Linked DNA regions of Homo sapiens: region 1 is linked to region 2. Evidence: promoter capture Hi-C in human tissues and cell types (Jung and others, 2019). All regions are on one chromosome and are shown on one strand. Each heading gives the region's core, a stretch centred on a gene start or on the middle of the fragment in contact. The rest is flanking DNA. Distances are from core to core; before and after follow the strand shown.

Region 1 (6,075 bases), core at 1,527-4,026, 280 kb before region 2:
CAGTTAGACACCTAGTTTTCTATTTTGATATTTTTTCCCTGTCCTTTCATTTTCAACTCTCCATGCCTTGTTTTAGGTATGTCTCTTTAAGATGGCATATAATGGATTTTTAAAAATCTATACAATAAATTTTGTCTTCAAAACTGAGCTTATTCTACTTTTAATTATATTTGAATTTATTTCTTGTACTTTTATGGTTTCTATTTTTCTTATGTTTTCAGTTTTTATTTCTTCCATCTTTCCTTAATTTAAAAATTCATTCAAGGCTAGGCACGGTAGCTCATGCCTGTAATCCCAATACCTTGAGAGGCTGAGGTGGGAAGAATGATTGAGCCCAGGGCAACACAGCAAGACCCCCATCTCTACAAAAAATAAAAAACTTAGCTGGGTATGGTGGCGTGCACCTGTAGTCCCGGCTAGCTGAGAGGCTGAGATGGGAGGATGGCTTGAGCCCAGGAGTTTGAGGCTGCAGTGAGCTATCACACCATTGTATGCCAGCCTGGAAGACTGAGTGAGACCCTATTTCTAAAAAAAAAAAAATTAGAGTCATTCAGCCTTTTTTCTTTCACTTTATTTTTATGCATTTAGTAGTTTGGAGATTATATACTCTATTTCTTCTAGAAAGTTTAATAATATTTATATTTATTGATAATTTATTGGTTTAATTGCTAACCATTTCTTCATGTATCTCAGACCAAAATTTTAATTAGTAAACTATCTTTTGTTCCTGGCTGCTTTTTAAAAAACTTTTTATTTCATAATAATTACAGATTCACAGAAAGCTACAAAAATAGAAAAGAGGGGCCCTTTGTACCCTTCCCCGCAGTTTTCCCCAATGGTTACATGTTACTTAACTATAATACAATGGCAAAATGAGGAAATTGATATTGGCACATTGTGTATATATAGTTCTATCTCATTGTATCACATGTGTAGATTTCTGTAAGCATCACTCAGTAGTTTCAAGATACAGAATGATTTTATTATGACAGAGATCTCCCTTATGCTACCACTTAACAGCCACACCCAAACCTCCTACCATCACTAACCCCTGGCAACTATTAATCTGCTCTCCATCTCTATAATTTTATATTTTTGAAAATATTACATAACTGGAATCATGCTGCATGCTATGAATTGAATTATGTTTAACCTCAATGTGACTGTATTATTAACACTCAATGTGACTGTGTTTGGAAATACAGCCTTTAATGAGGTTAAACAAAGAGACACCAGGGAACTTTTCTCTCTCTCTCTCTCTCTCTCTCTCTCTCTCTCTCTCTCTCTCCCCTCCCTCTCTCTCATTCTCTCTGCCATATGAGGGCAGGGAAACAGTGATTTTCTGCAAGCCAGGAAGAGAGCTTTCACCAGAAATCTACCCTGCTGGGCCTTGATCTGGGATTTCTAGCCTCCAGACTGTAAGAAAATACATTTTTATTGTTTACACCCCTCAGTCTATGGTATTTTGTTATGGCAACTAGCACAGACTCATGCCTCATTTTGTACCTTGGCTTTTCACTCAGCCTAATATTCTTGAAATCTAATCAAGTTTCTGGGTGTTTCAATAATTTGTTCCTTTTTATTGCTGACTTATATTTCACCTGACCGTTTTTAAGAGCTTCAATTTGTCTTTGGTGTTCTGCAGACTAGTATGATATGTCCAGGTGTTAATTTCTTTTCTTTTCTTCTTTTTAAGTTATTCTTGGAACTTGTTGCACTTCCTGAATTTGAGAATTGGTATCATTAATCAATTCTGAAAAATACTCAGCCATTATCTCTTCTGATATGGCCTCTCTCCTATTCTCTTTCCTTTCCTTTTGGAACTCTGATTAGACTTATTAAATGTTCTCACTCTATCCTTGATATCTCTTAACTTTTCTTGTATATTTTCCATCTCTGCATCTTTTTGTTGTATTCTGGGTCATATCTTCAGATTTATATCCCAGTTCACTTATTCTTTCCTGTAGTCTAATTCATCCTTTGAGTTTTTAATATCAATTATTATTTTATAAAACTTTATGATGATATAATTCTTATACCAAAAATAATTTTTAAAGTATAGAATTTTAGTGTTTTTCAGTGTATTCACAGATTTGCGCATCTACCACCACCATTAACATGCAGAACATTATCATCAACCGCAAAAGAAACTCCATATTTATTGGCAGTCATTCCCCATTCTCCTCGTCTCCCAACCCCTAGAAATTACTAATCTACTGTCTATTTTTATAGCTTTGCCTATTCTGGAAATTTCATATAAAAGGAGTACTATAATATATGTAGCCTTTTGTGTCTGGCTTTTTTTCATTCAGCATGAGGTTTGCAAGATCCATTTTGCATGGGTACTTTATTTCATTTTATTGCAAGGTAATATTCTATTGTATATGCCACATTCCACACCACTGTTTGTTAACCATGCTTCAGTTGATGGACATTTGGGTTGTTTCTACTTTGGCACTGCTATGAACATTTAGATGTACAAGTTTGTGTGTAGTTTTGAATTATCTTGTTTGTATGCATGAGAGTAGAATTGCTGGGACATGCAGTAGGTAACTCTATGTTTAATCAGTTGAGGAACTGCCAAACTGTTTCCTAAAGTGGCTGCAGGATTCAACATTCCCACCAGCAATGTGTGAGAATTTAAGTTTTCCTACATCCTTGCCAACACATATTACTTCCATTTTTTATATTAGAGCCACCATAGTTGGTGTGAGGTGGTAGTATCTCATTGTGTCTCTGATTAATAATTTGCTAACGAATATTTTTGCGTGTGCAGATACACACAAATTCCTTTTGAATTGTCTTGGCATCTTTTTCAAAAATCAGTAAATGTAAGGGGTAATTTCTGGAGTCTCAGTTCTATTCCATTGATTTGTATGTCTATTCTTATACCACACTGCACTGATTACTATAGCTGTATAGTAAGCTTTGAAATCAGGAAGTGTGAATGCTCCAATTTTATCCTTATTTTTCAAGATAATTTGGCTATTCTGGATCCCTTCCATTTCTATACGAGTTTTTGGATTAATCTTTCGAAATTCCTAAGATTTTGATAGGGGATGTATTTAGTTTGAATATCAGTTTGAAGATTATTGCCACTTTACCAATACTGAGTCTTCCAATCCATGAGCATGTGATGTCTTTATAGTGATTTGGGTCTAATTTTATTTATTTATTTATTTATTTATTTATTTATTTATTTATTATTTTTTTGAGACAGAGTCTCGCTCTATCACCTAGTCTGGAGTGCAGTGGCACGATCTTGGCTCACTGCAACTGCCACCTCCCAGGTTCAACCTCCCAGGTTGTAGCTGGGGTTACAGGTGCACACCACCAGAACTGGCTAATTTTTTCTGTTTTTAATAGAGATGGGGTTTCGTTTTGTTGGCCAGGCTGGTCTTGAACTCCTGGCCTCATGTGATCCACCTGCCTCAGCCTCCTAAAGTGGTGGGATTACAAGCATGAGCCACCACACTTGGCCCTAATTTAATTTCTTTCAATGATGTTTTGTAATTTTCAGTGCACAAGTTTTACTCCTCCTAAGTTTATTTCTAAGTATTTTATTCTTTTTGATGCTATTATAAACATAATATTTCCAAATTTTACGTTCAGATTGCCCATTGCTTACATATAGAAATATAATTGCTTTTTGTATATTGATACTGTATCCTGCAATCTTGTTGATTTTATATAATTTTACTTCTTCCCTTCCAATCTGAATGTTTTATGTTTCTTTCTTGCTTAATTGCTGTGGCTGGAACTTCCAATATATCATGTTGAATAGAAGCAGTGAGAGCGGATATCCTTGTCTTGTTCCTGATCCTAGGGGGAAAATACTCAGTTTTTCACCTTTAAATACATTGTTAGCTATGTGTTTTTCATGGATGGCCTTTATCAGATTGAGGAATTTCTCCTTTATCCCTAGAGTTTTTTTTTTTTTTTATGAAAGGATGGGTTTTGTGGAATGTTTTTCTATGTCTATTGAGATGATCATGTAGTTTTTGCCCCCTTACTCTACTAATATGACATGTTACATTGATTGATTTTCATATGGTAAGCCAAGCTCACATACTGTGATAAATCCCACGTGGTCATGATGTATAATCCTTTCTATATGCTGCTGAAATCAGTTTGCTGGTATTTTGATGGGGATATTTCAGTCTGTATTCAAAATTGGTCTGTAGCTTTCTTGTGATGTTTTTGTCTAGTTTCGGTGTCAGGGAAATTCTGGTCTCAGAGAGTAAGTTGGGAAGTATATACCAATTCTAATTTTTACAAGAGTTTGTGAAAAACTCATGTTAATTCTTTCTTAAAAGCTCAGTAGAGTCCAGTAGTTTAGCCATGTGGGTTGGGCTTTTCTGTGTGGTTAGTTTTTGGTTTGTTTGTTTCTTCATTTGTTTTGTTGTTGTTGTTAATAGATAATTCAATCGCTTTACTTCTTGTCTCTCTGCTCAGACTTCCTCTTTCATTTTGAGACAGTTTTGATAGTTTGTATGTTTCTAGAAATTTGTTCTTTTAGGTAACCTAACTTGTTGGCATGCAATTATTCATAGTATTTCCTTAAATTCCTTTTTATTTATTGAAGATCAATAATGATATCTCATCTTTCATTCCTGATTTTAGCAATTTGAGCCTTCTATCTTTTTCTCTTGGTCAGTCTAGCTAAAGTTTTGTCAATTTTTAAAAATCTTTTCAAATCAATGACTCTTTTGGGGGCAATACTTAATCCAAAAGGATGAATGGATAATGATGTAACTTTAGGTGACAATTTTAGAGCTTGGTTAGAAGAGTATTTACATTAAATATAAAACAGTAACATTATTTTGGGGAAATTTCTAACATTTACCTGAGAGCATTGGTGAAAGGAAATCGTATTTTACTGTCATTTACTGAGATTCTGGGTACAGAGAAGTCTCCTTTGGCTATAAATAGGAAAGAGATACCAGTGAACTTATTTTAAAAAAGGAAACTTTTGGTGATTATCTCCATTATCTTTCTATTCTTTATTTATTTCTCTCTCTACTCTTTATGATTTTTTTTCCTTCTGCTTCTTTGGGTTTAGTTTGCTCTTCTTTTTCTAATATCTTAAGGTAGAATATCAGGTTCTTAATGTGGATTTTTTTCTTTTTTTTTAAATATAGACATTTATCAGTATACATTTCCCTCTAAGCATTAATTTCACTGCATCCCAGAAACTTCGGCATATTGCATTTTTATTTTCATTCATTTTCTAATTTCCCTTGTGATTTCTTCTTTGACTCTTTAGTTACTTAGAAGAATATTGTTTAATTTCTACATATTTGTGAACATCTCCAATTTTTTTCTGTTATCAGTTTTTAATTTCATTCCATTGTGGTCAGAGAATCTATTTCATATAATTTCAAAATTGATTTTTAAATTTATTGGGGCTTGGCTGGGCGCGGTGGCTCACGCCTGTAATCCCAACACTTTGGGAGGCCAAGGTTGGTGCATCATCTGAGGCCAGGAGTTCGAGAGCAGCCTGGCCAACATGGCGAAACCCCATCTCTACTAAAAATACAAAAATTAGTGGGGTGTGGTGGCTTGCACCTGTAGTCCCAGCTACCCGGGAGGCTGAGGTAAGAGAATCACTTGAACCTGCGAGGCAGAGGTTGCAGTGAGCCGAGTTCGCGCCACTGCACTCCAGCCTGAGCGACAGAGCGAAACTTCATCTCAAAGAAAAAAAAAATTACTGGGGCTTGTTATATACCATAGCATAGGGACTGTTCTGGAGAATATTCCATGTGCACTTAAGAAAAATGTATACTCTGCTGTTATTGAATGGAATGTTCTATTTGTGTCTGTTAGGTCTTGTTGGTTTATATTGTACATCATCTTTCTTTTATTGATCTTCCTCATTCTTGAAATATTATTTTTTATTTCTAGAAAATCTTTTGGTCCTTTAAAATTATGCTTGGTTACTTTTAGTTAGTTATTTCTCTCTAGTTTAATTTTGACTCCCCCTTTTTAAATTTCTATATACCCACTAAACAAGCTTATTTTATAATTAGTATCTATTTAATTCCAGTAGTTGGCATCTTTGTAGATTGAGTATGC
Region 2 (6,414 bases), core at 364-2,863:
TGACTGCAAAATGACCCCAGAAAAGACCAAGAGAAAAAAAAATGCCCAGGTGAACCCAGCTCAAGTTGATGACCTACAGAATCATAAGAAATAATGTGGTTTAAGAAGTCTGATGTTTTAGGTCACTAAATTTTGGGGTTCTTTATTCTGGAGTAATACATAGATACAAATCTCAAAATAACTTCAAGGTATGAAGTACTATGCACTTGAAAAGTGAGGAAACAGAATCGTAAAATATATGAGTAACTTACTGGAGCCAGTTAAGTGACAAAACTACTGTTTGAATCTAGGTTGTCAGACTCCAGAACTTTTAACTATGCCCCTACAGTAGATAAGAAAAATGACCAAAACTGACAGATTAGCAATGAGGTCATTATACAGGGAAAAATGAATGACTTTGGGGTCTTAAAAAAGTGGAGAGAGCTGCATGAGAATTTGATCGCCAGATTTTGAAATAAAGTCATGTGACTATGCTTGGTACACTAAAGAGGTAATACTGCCTAACAGAGTTAAGGGGGATCATTTGAAGACACTAGCATAGAGTGACACCCCCTCATCCTCCCCACCCCGCCAAAGCCACTAAGAAAGATATAATACCCTGCCTCTCACCTGACAGAAGGTGGTGTTCCTGAGATTCATAATTGAACTGGATCTCCATGGGCTGCAACTGGACACCTCAGTGTGCAAGTGGAGAATTACCATTTCCTCTGTAAGCTTTTCTTGTCCACATAAAGGTCTGGGACCTGGAGGCAACTGGGCACCACTGGGCTTGGAAGGGAATCATTGTGCTGACTACAGATGTAATCTCTGAGACTAGACCACCAGAAAAATCCTCAAGATATAAAAGAAGGAGAAAACAAAAAATCTCATTTGACTTCCAGTTGCTTTTCTCTCAGAATGTATTAGGCTTCCTCCCCATCATCCAAGAGCCAGGGATTAACCCACTTAAGACACACATTCCCCATTCCAAGTCTAGAGATGTTCAAACAAAATTAGGGGTTAATGCTACCAAAAAAAGGTATAACTGGAAAGATAACGCAGAGAGGGGAATTTTACAGTGAATTCTAGTGGTTAACACTATGTTATTCGCTGCCCTTCCTATCCAAAAATGACACTACTGATCATTTTTCTTCCTTTTGCTTTTACAACATTCACAAATTCAGGTGGCTCTTTCCCAGTACGGTAGGCTGATTCGTATGGATGCACCACGGTTGGTGACTCCCCCCACCCCACAGAGTTTCTGGCGTTCATTCGGTTGAACCCAAGGCCAGCAAGGGCTGACTGGGAACAAACCGAACACTAGGCCGTGAACCAATCGTCTCTCCGTGCCCGGGAGCGACCCCGGGGGCCTTCACTCTCCAAGGACTCGAGAAACCATGCACAGTTTCCTGCTCGTTAGGCAAGATCACCCGGAACTCCTCTGCTATCCGCGAGCCGACATCACCCTTACCTCGACTTGGTCACCGGACCGCTGTGAAGCCTCACACCCGGCGAACCTGCCATCGCCCTGTCCGCTCTAGGAATCTGGGAGGAGTGCTCAGCTCTATGGCGCTTCACCGCGCAGGCGCAGGGCGGGGGTGGGGCACCGGGTGACGGAGGGCTGCCGAGAATTAACCCCCGAACCGCCGCGAGCTGTCCCTAGCAGTGCCTTAGCCAGGGACCTGCTTGGCCAGCGACAGATCCTTTGCTGCTCTGTCTGCCGGTTCTTGAGGTGAATGTCGGAATCCATTATCTTTCGGGAAAGCTCTCTGGGGCAGGGTAGGTTTTCTTACTACATACAAGTTCTTAATTAGTTATCGTTTTTTAAATAACCACCCCTCCCCCTATCGCTTATCTGATTCGTAGGTATGCTTTAATTCTAACTTTCTTCCTGTCCTCTCTGGTTTTTCACACCCCCAGAAGAGTAGCGCGCATCAGAATCACCTGGAGGCCTTGTTAAAATACTGACTTCTGCCCCACAACTCCGGAGTTGCTGATTTAGTAGTGGGGGAGGGGGCGGTGGCAGCCCAGGTTCTCAGGTGATCCTGAAGCTGTTGGTCCTGGGACCACATTTTGAGAACCACTGCCCAAGAAATAAGTGATGCTCAGTAATTAATCCCTGAATTAACGGAAAGTTGGATTTTTATCTACTTTGCAATCTAGAAAGGGTACGAGGTCTATTTAAGGTTTGCTTGCTAGAACAATTCTCACTGATCAGGGTGAGAAGGACCCGAAATGGAGGGTGCGGGGTAATCAGGGTAGGAAAGGATATTGCTGTGTTCATGGAAATATCTTGGGAAATGAGGAGTTGGGACCTCATTTCTGTTGAGACCAATGAGACGTGTGACTTGGTTTAAGCTGTCCGGTGGGGAAAGGAAGAGGTTTGAGAAAATGGTGGGTGGCTAAGTGGTAGTTGAGGTGGAGGAAGAGGGCTTCCTGTCCCAGCCCAAGTCCCTGTTGGGATATATGAAATTTAGGGATGTATGACTAAGCCCTTAATATAACCGTAAGAGGAAAGAGATGTGGGAACTTGAGTCCAACCCTCCCAAGTAGGGAGTGCAGATAGTTTTAAAAAAACAGCTTTCTTTTTGGCCAGGCGCAGCTTAGGCCTGTAATCCTAAAACTTTGGGAGGTTGAGGCAGGTGGATCACCTGAGATCAGGAGTTGGAGACCAGCCTGGCCAACAAGGTGAAACCCTGTCTCTACTACAAATACAAAAATTAGCTGGGCATGGTGGTGTGCGCCTTTAATCCCAGCTACTTGGGAGGCCGAGTCAGGAGAATCGCGTGAACCCATGAACCCAGGAGGCGGAGGTTGCAGTGAGCCGAGATTGCGCCACTGCACTCCAGCCTGGGTGACAAAGCGAGACTTTGTCTCAAAACAAAACAAAACAAAACAAAACAAAACAGCTTTATTGAGGTATAACTGACATAAACAGCAAATATTTAAAGGATATAATTTGATAAGGCTTGTTAAATGAATACAGCTGTGGAACTATCACTGCAATCAAAATAATATGTTTATTACATCTAAACCCCAAAAGTTTCCTCCTGCCCGTTGGTAAGCCTCTCTCCCAATGCCCCCTCCACTGGTCAGCTGTTACTAGAGATTAGTTTGCATTTTCTAGATATTTATTTAAATGGAATCATACAGAATGTCCTTGTTTTTGTCAGAGTTGTTTCACTAAGCTTTTATTTTGAGATTTATCTTTATTGCTGTGTGTATCAATAGTTAATTTTTGTTGCTGAATAATATTCCATTGTATGTATATACCACAGTTTGTTTATCCAATCACCAGTTCATGGGCATTTGGGTTATTCCAGGTTTTTACTGTTACAAGTAAAGCTGAGAACATTCATGTACACACGTCTTTATATGGACATATGCTTTTTTCCCCCTCTCTCATGGTAGATGTACATTTAATGTTTAAAAAAACCCACACTACTTTTCAGAGTGGCTGTATCATTTTGCATTCCTAACATGAGTACATGAGAGTTCCGGTTCCTCCACATCCTTACCAACTCACTGTGTATCTCACTGTGGTTTCAATTTGCATTTCCATACTGACTAATAATATTTAGCATTTTGTAATGTGCTTATATGCCATCTGTATATATTCTTTGGTGAAGTATCTGTACAAATCTTTCGTCCATTCTGGACACTAGTCTTTTGTCAAATATATGCTTTGTGGCCAGGTGCCATGGCCCAAGCGTGTAATTCCTGCACTTTTTGTAGGCCAAGGTGGGTGGATTGCTTGAGTCTAGGAGCTGGAGACCAGCCTGGGCAACGCGGTGACACCCTTTCTCCACCCAGAATACAAAAAATTGTCGGATGTGGTGGTGTGTGCCTGTGGTCCCAGCTACTTGGGAGGCTGAGGTGGGAGGATTGCTTGAGCCTGGAAGGTGGAGCTTGCAGTGGGTGGTGATCATGCCACGGTACTCCAGCCTGGGCAACAGAGCAGGACCCTGTTGCAAAAAAAAAAAAAAAGAAGAGGAAGAAGATATATGCTTTGCAAATATATTGTGCCTTCAGTTTTCTTTCTGTTAATATTTTTTGAATAGCATCAGTTTTAAGTTTTGATGAAGCACAGTTTATCAATTGGCTCTTTTATGGATCATGCTTTTTGTATGATATTTGAGAAATCTTTGCCTAAAATAAGTTCACCAAGATTTCCTCCAGGATTTTTAGGTTTTACATTTTGGTCTCTGATCCATCTGGAATTAATTTGTTTCTACCCATACAACTCTGAGATTTAGGGTAAAGTTAATTTTTTTTTTTTTTTTTTTTTGGTATGTGGATATTCAGTTGTTCTGTACCATTTCTTTCTCCTCTGAGTTTCCTTTAAGCTTTGTAAAATCAGTTATCCATATATGTGTGGGTCTATTTCTGGCCTCTCTATTTTTTCATTGATCTACTTGTCTCTTTAGTCCAACACCACACTTAATTACTCTAGCTTTATAATAAGGCTTGAAATCAGGTAGTGTGAGACCTCTAATTTTGTTGTTTTGGTTATTCTAAGCCCATTGCATTTCCATATCAATTTCTGAATCAGTTTGTCAACTTCTACAAAGAAGCTATCTGAGATTTTGATTGGGATTGGATTGAATCTGTAGATCAATATGGGGAGAATTGACATGTTAAAGCAATATTGAGTCATCTGATCCATGAACACAATATTTTTCTCAATTTATTTAGGTCTTCCTTAATATCTCTCACCAATATTTTATAGTTCTTTTTAATATTTTACAGATCTTTCATAACTTTTGACAGATCTATTCCTAAGTATTTAATATATTTTGATGCTATTGTATTTTTCCTTTAATTTCAGATTGTTTGTTGGTAATATAATAGAGAAATACAATTGATTTTTGTATATTAATCTTGTATCTTGCAACTTTGTTAAATTCATTTATTAGTTCTAGTAGCTGTTTTTGTAGATTCTATCAGATATTCTACATATGAGATCAGTTTTACTCCTTCCTTTCCAATCTGGATGCCTTTCTTATTTTCAGCGCAGTAAGGCAGGCAAAGGGAGGTGGAGAAAGGCATTCAGATTGGAAAAGAAGAAGTAAAATTGATCTTTATGTATATCAGTGTTCGGTAGAAATGAAGAAAGGGGAAATCTTTGTCTTTTTTCCAATCTTAAGTGAAGATCTTTGTCTTTTTTTTTAATCTTAAGCATCCTTTCTCTGTTAAGCATGATGTTAGCTGTGGTTTTTTTTATTGGTACCCTTTAACAGACTGAGGAAGTTTTTTTCTAATTCTAGTTTGGTGAGAATTTATATCAGGAATGTAGGATGGATTTTGTCAATTGCCTTTTCTGTATCTTTTGAGAAGACAGTTTGTTAATATGGTGATTTACAATGATTGATTTTTGAACATTAAACCAAACCTGCATTCCTGTAAAAAACCCTGCTTCACTGTGATGTATTATCCTTTTTATATATTGTTGGATTTTTCATGAAGAATATTGGCCTATAGTTTTCTTGTAATGTCGTTGTCTAGTTTTGGGATCAAGGTAACGTGGGCCTCAAAGAATGATTCAAAAAGCATCCCATTGTCTTCAGTATTGTTGAAGAGTTTGTACAGAATTGGTATTATTTCTTCCTTAAATATTTGGCAGAATTCACAGTGAACCTATCTGGACCTAGAGTTTTTTTGTGGGAAGGTTTTAAATTACAAATTCAGTTTCTTTAATAGATATGGTGCTATTCAGGTTATATATTTCTTATAGGGTAAGCTTTAGTATTTTGTATCATTTAAAGAATCAGCCAATTTTGTATAAGTTGGCATAAAGTTGTTTATAATATTACTTTGTCCTTTTTGTATCTGTTGAATCTGCAGTGATGTTACCTCTTTCATTCTTGCTATTAGTAATTTGTATCTTCTCCCATTTCCCCTTGTCGGATAGGCCAGAGCTTTGTCATTTTTATCTTTACAGAGAACCAGCTTTTCATTTATTTAAAAATTGTCTTTCATTTTCTGGTCTATTAATGTCCACTCTGTTCCTTATTATTTCCTTTTTTCTCCTTGCTTTGGGTTTAACTTGCTTTTTTTTTTCTGGTTACTTTAAGTGGAAGTTGAGGCCTCTGATTTGTAATATTTCTTATTTTGTGTTATAGAAATTTGGTGCTATAAATTTTCCCCTAAGTACTGCCTTAGCAGCATCTCACAAATTCTGATGTGTTGTCTTTTTATTTTCATTCAGTTCAGAATACTTTGAACTTGGATTATTTCAGTTTCTAAATATTTGGGGGGTTTCTAGAGATTTTTCTGATATTTATTTCTAATTTAATTTTATTGTAGTCAAAGAACATACTGTGTATGACTTGAATCCTTTAAAATCTATTGAGACTCATTAATGGCCCAAAACATGGTCTGTCTTCATAAATGTTCCATGCACATTTGAGAAGGATATATTAATATATTCTGCTG

Evidence for each region. Contacts are between HindIII fragments. The study calls those that stand out against the background at their distance.
Region 1: a fragment that was not itself captured here is called in contact with the fragment with the promoter of ZSCAN30 in region 2 in 2 of the 25 tissues and cell types used here (hippocampus and liver).

Annotation. Positions count from the first base shown.
Region 1 is chr18:35,563,314-35,569,388 of GRCh38, reverse strand. No RefSeq gene overlaps it. Among named protein-coding and RNA genes, the nearest start is that of GALNT1, 15 kb to the left of the region's middle. The HindIII fragment of the contact is 9,152 bases long and covers 1-6,075 here.
Region 2 is chr18:35,285,428-35,291,841 of GRCh38, reverse strand. It overlaps ZSCAN30 (zinc finger and SCAN domain containing 30), which reads left to right and starts at 1,613. Exons shown (of 4, transcript NM_001112734.4): 1 at 1,613-1,758. It also overlaps the pseudogene ZNF271P. RefSeq lists an enhancer at 1,337-1,496. The HindIII fragment of the contact is 7,442 bases long and covers 1-3,746 here.